2 separate regions of the Homo sapiens genome follow, and region 2 is linked to region 1. The links are contacts of gene promoters, found by promoter capture Hi-C in human tissues and cell types (Jung and others, 2019). All regions are on one chromosome and are shown on one strand. The core of a region is centred on a gene start or on the middle of the fragment in contact, and the rest is flanking DNA. Distances in the headings are between cores, read along the strand shown.

Region 1 (3,385 bases), core at 586-3,085:
AAGTAAACAAATTTCAGCAACATGCCTTTTTTAGGAATTTGGCTTTAATTAACATCCAAACACTGTTAATTATTATGGCAAAAACATCAATACGTCAAAAAAAAGCCTTCAGGCCAGGGAATCTTTAAGAAACAATTATGTCTACTAATTTCGATTAAAGGTATCCTTTATTAAATTCTTAACAACCCGTCTCTTTCTAAACGCAGCGCCTTCACAACTCTTCTTCCCTTCCCCCTACCCCGCTTCCCTCCCTCCGCAATGGAGCGCAATCAAAGGCCGTATTATTGCCTAAGCTTGGCTCTCAGGCCAGCTAGGGATGTGTGTGTGTGTGTGTGTGTGTGTGTGTGTGTGTGTGTGGTGGGGCGGGGGTGGGGGGCGAGGGTGCAAGGGGAGAGGTTGTACGCCGCTTTTCCGAACCCAGCTCTAAATGGTTTCTCCTAAGCGAGACAAGGATTTTCCATAGCCTAAAAGAGGCCATCAAGTTTTAACATTGCGAGGCACGACTTCTAATCGCATCCTTCCCGGAAAAGTACAAACAGTTCCTCAGACGAGGTCCCCCACCTCCCACGCGCTCCCCAGCCCTCCCTCCCTGCGGAGAGCCCCGCGACAGCCTCCCCAACACCTGTGAATCATCCGGGAGGCTGCCACCGCCGAGCGATCCGCGCACCACCCCCTTCCCGGGCCCGGGCACGGCCAGGGAGGACAGTTAGGGTTGTTGCTTTATAATTATCACTTTTAATCTCTAATACGACCAGCACAAGTAGCCTTTGTCTCCCCGCCCTGATTTGAGCATCCGAGGGCCCCCCGAGGCAGCCTGCACGGGTACCCCGGGGTTTGCGCACTGAGTGAACCCCCAGATTCGGCCGTGTCCCAGCCGTCCTTGCTCTGAATCCCCCACCTCCTCCCGGCCGTTTGGACGGTTCCCTCGGGGCGTCTGTGCCTCCGTGGGGTACCCCTAAGACACCCAGCATGAAACCCCAGCACCGACTGCAAATTCCACCGAAAGCAGAGTCATCCGTTTTTGCCCTCGGCAAACAACTCAACTTCAAGCCTCGAGTCCTTGCAAACCCACGCTGGCTGGGCTAACTCCGCTTCCCTTCTCCTTCCCCCGACTCCTGCAACAGCTCAGAGAGCCTGGCTCTGACGTAGTTCAAAATAACGTGCGCCAGCCTCGCTGCCCGGCTGACCACAGCAACGAGAGCCACAAGCCCTCGACGCTGCTTCGATAACATGAAGCAATCACTCATAAAAATAGCAACCCACGTAGCCTGGCCATATATGGAGCTGGCGAGGGTGGACGGGGATGCCCCTACGGACCCTCTTCGGAGAAAACAAATCGCCGCTGAAATTTCCCCCACCCCTCCCATCACTACCTTTTACCCCTCCTCTGCCTTCCCCTCTCCTTAGATGACTCAACCACAGATTCCACTGAAAGGGGGTGGGGGTGGGGGTGGGGGGGAATATATACACATACACACAAATTATACATATATTATACATGTATTATAAAATATACACACACATACATATATACATACACACACATATACACATATGTACACACACACGCACACACACCAAAGAACATCAGGAATGCAGTTGCGGGATGAACGCGTTTGCCCAAGACCGAGTGTTAAAATGGAGTCATAAGAGTCGCCCCGTGCGGGTGTTTATAGAAGGTGAAAACACGCAGGTTTGCAGGCCAGCGCACTGGGAACCGAGTCAAGCGCGCCGCAGCCCGGGCCCCGCCCCCGCCCCCGCCGTGCCCCGCCCCCACTTCCTCCCGCCCCTCGCTGGGCGGCTATTAAAAGCTGCTGACGTCAAAACGGACGGCCATCTTTGATGAGGGCAGAGCTCACGTTGCATTGAAGACGAAACCTCGGGGAGGTCAGGCGCTGTCTTTCCTTCCCTCCCTGCTCGGCGGCTCCACCACAGTTGCAACCTGCAGAGGCCCGGAGAACACAACCCTCCCGAGAAGCCCAGGTAAGAACCCCCCTCCCCAGGTCGTGGCTCTGGCTCGGGATGGCTGCATACCCAGAAGGGACAGCAGCTGGGCAGTCCGAGTGGGCTTGGGTAAATACAAGTATTGGTGCACTTAGGGTGCGGTATTCCGTGTGTGCACGTCTGGTGGGGGCTTTATAAAGTGTTTTCGAGGTGAGCTGCTGGGGAAAAGGGAAACGGGAGCCCTGCAAATGGAGCGACGGGGAGGAAGAGCGAGGGTACGTACCGAATAATAACTTACTCTTTTGAAACAGTAGTGGGACCCCCTCTTTCTTCCATTTTGCGATGCAGTTTTCAGAGATATTTAGGCTGTTGAGTTTTCCTCCCCTGTCGTTCTAACCCTATTATTATGACTGTTGTCGTTAGGGTGCTATTATCCAGGGAAGAATTAAGGGGGAGACAGGGTGTGGGTGCTGGGGAGGCGAAAGGAGAAAGGGGGAGTTCCCGCCCCGGGCAAGCTGAGCTGCTGCAGCGACAGCAGCCTCCATGCCCCGCGGACTTGATTTATGCCGCCTGCTCCACGTCAACTGCAGGCTGGCGGGAGGCGGGCGGGTCGTGCCGGGTGGGAGGGCTCTGCGGAGGGCTGGCGCGGGTGGGCTGGCTTCGGGGACTGCGGCGGCCCGCGCTCAGCACCCTGGATAGCAACACCGAGGGCTCGCGCGGGCGCCCTCGACCTTTCAGCACCGGGGACAGCGGTCCGGCCGCAGCGCCTCATCTGCCTGCGGCAGAAATGCCTGGCCGGGGCTGGATGTGCCAGGGCTGGAGACCAAATTGTCTCCCTGAGACCCCGGTCTTACGGAGACCCTTAATAGAGGAGTCATAGTAGCTTAAAAGAAAACAAGAAAGAAATAAATCTTCCTCACAGAGACTCCTTTGCAGACAATTTCCTGTTCCCCTCCTCACCTCCTGCATAGCTTCAACAAAATAGTCTACTTGTGGAAATCTTCTGTGTTGCCCTCTGACCCTTATTTTACGTAGAAAATAAATACATTTTTTAAAAAATATGGATTTATCCTCCAGCAGGGTATCAAGGTTTTTGTTTGGTTTTGTTTTTTAACACAGAGTAGATCTGTCTACAGATCTTGGGTGAGCATAAGTACTGTATATATGAAGAAGCCAATGCTATCTGTTTATAGGGATGATACATCTCTCTCTATGTTTCCATTTGATAAAAATGTGAGATTAGCTGAACTAAGCAGAATCAACTTTAAGAATGAATCACTCTTCCTTTTCCTTCTTCCCCCATCCTTGCAATCAGGCATGAATACAAGCATTCATCCACAAAAACACATATCTGAGAAATTTTACTGGTCCTGTACTGAATAGATTTAACCTCTTTGGCCACGGTTTCAGAGTTACTGGAAGTATTTGCTATCAGCACTGG
Region 2 (3,385 bases), core at 610-3,109, 1.1 Mb after region 1:
ACATTGAATAAAGATACGTTTACCACATTTGGCTTCACCATGCAAAGGTCCCGTTGAATAGCAAAAGATTTGCACATATTTAAATTAGATTTCACACAATCTGTAAAATGACAAAGTATTAGGGAGGATTAGCCTAATTAAATGAGATTGTGAGAAAGCCTCAAAGAGATCCAAAGTGCAGATACCTTCCAAGTAGGATCACAGTGAAGGCTTCCAGAATCTATTTTGCCTCTTTCCCAGCAATCAGGGCTCAGATTACCCTGGGCGACAGTAGCACACTTGTGTATGCAGTGACATCTAGTGACAAAGAAAATAAAACCGGCTCCAAGGACACTTTCTTCACCAGACAGACTCCACAAAAATGACGCAGTACCTATCATTACTGTAGATTCGTGCATAGTATCCTATAGAGATTGCAAAAGAGATACACCAGTTTCTACACCAGATATGTTCAAAGAGGTAATACAAGAAGTATCAGTAAGGTTTGGCAAACAGCCGTGGTATCAGAATCCAAACAGGTAATTAAAACAGATTTATTTCTGTCTTATGTGCCCATAGTAAAAACTGCTGTTAATGATTTGGACACAGAGTTCGTGTGGAATGTTCTGAAGAACCACTGACATCTTCCAAGAAAAGAATCCATTAAGATGAATAGAATTTGCTACTTGAAATTCATGTCCAAAAGTTTAGAAAATATACATATGCAAGTTACTCAGGCAAGACAAAGATTTAACCAACTCTCCAAGTTATCTTAATCAAGCTGAAACCCACTTTAGATTAATTGGAGTAGGCCATAATAAAATATTTCCTGTTTCCTTTTGTCAGATTTTAGGATTTTAAGCAAAATGAATAAAATATATACAAAATCACAACTTTCTCTGTATAACAGGAACTTGGGGTCTTGTCTTCGTAGAGTTAGAAGAAAGTGAAATCTACAGATGTTAACTAGCTACACTGGAGGCAGGTTAGTGCTGTCCCGCTGAGGACTCCAGTTTTTAATCACCATCCTCACCCCACAGGACCTTTCAGGAGGCAGTGATAGTGCAGCCTACACCTGGAGGTCTCTCAGATTCTGGTGATCTTCAGTGAGGCCTTGGAGTCGGAATTTTGAGCAAACGCCCAGGTGATTCTTATGCAATTCTGCCATATCCTACCTTTTCTTATATGCTCCAGTGCAAAAGTAAAAATACCACTTGGGATATGGAGAGGGTTTAAACTTTGTAAAGGTATCCACAGTTGCCTGGGACTCGGACTGTAAGTAAACCATGAACCAGTTTATCCATGTGTGGCTACAACATTATTAAAAACAGTGTAATTGCCAGTATATTCTCAAAATGGGTTGCAAAGTGGCTGAAAAAAATAACTGGTTTTGGCCGGGCTCAGTGTCTCATGCCTGTAATCCCAGCACTTTGGGAGAATGATGTGGGTGGATAACCTGAGGTCAAGAGATCAAGACCAGCCTGGCCAACGTGGTGAAACCCTGTCTCTACTAAAAATACAAAAATCAGCCAGGTGTGGTGGCGGGCACCTGTACTCTCAGCTACTCGTGAGGCTGAGGCAGGAGAATCGCTTGAACCCGGGACACAGAGGTTGCAGTGAGCCAAGATCACGCCACTGCACTCTAGCCTGGGTGACAGAGCGAGACTCCACCTCAAAAACAACAACAAAAACTGGTTTCCTTTTTTTCTCCCTCCCTCCCTCCCTTCCTTACTTCCCTCCCTCTCTCCCTTCCTTACCTCCCTCCCTCTTCTCTTCCCTCCCTCCCCTCCTCCTTGCTTCCTTCCTTCCTCCCTTCTCTCCCTCCCTCCCTCCTTTCTTTCCCTCCCTTCCTTTCTTTCTTTCTTGCTTCCTTTCTTCCTTCCTTCCTTCTTTTTTCTTTTTTCTCCTTCCTTCCTTTCTTCTTTCCTTTCTTCCTTGGTTCCTTCTTTCTTTCCTTCCTTCTTCTCTTTGTCCCTCCCTTTCTCCCTCCTTTGTCTGTCTTTCTCTCTCTCTCTCTTTCTGTCGCTCTCTTTCTTTTTCTTTCTTCTCTCTTTCTTTTCTTTTCTTCTTCCTTCCTTTCTTGTTTCTTTTCTTCCTCGCTCCCTTCCTTCTTTCCATCTTCTCTCTCTCCCTCCCTCCTTTCCTCTCTCCTTTGTCTGTCTTTCTCTCTCTCTCTTTCTTTCTCTCTCTCTTTTTTTCTTTTTTCTCTTTCTCTCATCTTTCTTTTCTTCTTTCTTTTTTCTTTTTTAATGATTGTCATTTCTATATTCAGGGCTCTCTTTCTTTTCCCCCATGGAAAAATTAAGTCTATAAGCAATAAACTCTTTTAAACAAATTAGGCTTAAAGTTGTATCTTTAAAATACTAGCTATATAGCATGGCTTAGCCCTGATGAAGGCATTCTGAGTTTTTCTGAATTATTGATTGTGGATTCAATGCTTGGAAATTTAGTAATTGCTGATATAGCAAGGGAGCCTGCATGTAAAGAATTCTCAGTAAATTCTTTAGTCGAGTTGTACAAAGAAATAACCAACACATTTATAAAAATCCCACATTGTCACAAAGTAAATTATTAGTTGATTATTCTCCTTATACAAATTTGTATACATATATATATGGTTTATTTAAAGCTGGCAATTCATGTGGACATTTATAATAAAAACTATGTTTCTGTTGCATTTAGACATTCATTTACACTCTGCCTTAGAATTTAGATTTCAGGGCTTGCTGTTTTTGTTTGAATTAAGGTTGTTTTTTTTTTTTTTTCTCATTTGTATTGGTTTCTCAATGTCTTTCCTTTGAGGTTTTGAACGTAAACTAACATTGCCAGGTGACTTTTTCACATATAATTCTACTATCTGAAAGACCTGGGAAAAGCTCTTTGACATTGATTTTCTACTGAATGGAGATTTGAGCTGGGGTCTGCAGAGCCTCAGGGATCTGGGGCATGCTTCAGGTGCTGCAGGGAGTAGGGGGTGGGTGGAAGAAGTTTGGGGCTGCCCCAGAGTCCCCTCAAGCAGAGTCTTGGAATTTAATTTATGAATTTTGACTCAAAAAAAGGTTTCTTCCACTTTAACTACATTTGCAAAATACTAATTTGGAGGTTTTCTTGAAAAATTATCACCCCTCCCACTACCCTCCACTACTTCGTTTCCTTTTTATTAGCTCATTGGTTTAGTTTTGTCCCGGGACCAGTTGTTAAAAGCTTTCACAGATCCACAATTCCAGACACTGTGTGTGGAGACTGGAACGACTTAACCCATAATGCCCTATGCTCAGCTGAGACCCAGTAATGCCCTGTGCTCAGCTCAGAGGCTTGTTTGTCCCCACTCTGTAGTTTCCATATGGGTTACTGGGACCTCCTACTCTATTTTATTTTATTTTATTTTATTTTATTTTATTTTATT

Evidence for each region. The method cuts DNA at HindIII sites, captures the fragments that hold promoters and counts their contacts. A contact is called where the count stands out against the background at its distance.
Region 2: a fragment that was not itself captured here is called in contact with the fragment with the promoter of SNAP25 in region 1 in 1 of the 25 tissues and cell types used here (dorsolateral prefrontal cortex).

Annotation. Positions count from the first base shown.
Region 1 is chr20:10,216,995-10,220,379 of GRCh38, forward strand. SNAP25 (synaptosome associated protein 25) reads left to right here and starts at 1,836. Exons shown (of 8, transcript NM_130811.4): 1 at 1,836-1,983. SNAP25-AS1 (SNAP25 antisense RNA 1) reads right to left here and starts at 2,512. Exons shown (of 5, transcript NR_040710.1): 1 at 2,243-2,512. The HindIII fragment of the contact is 5,357 bases long and covers 1-3,385 here.
Region 2 is chr20:11,273,964-11,277,348 of GRCh38, forward strand. No RefSeq gene overlaps it. Among named protein-coding and RNA genes, the nearest start is that of LINC02871, 250 kb to the left of the region's middle. The HindIII fragment of the contact is 6,189 bases long and covers 1-3,385 here.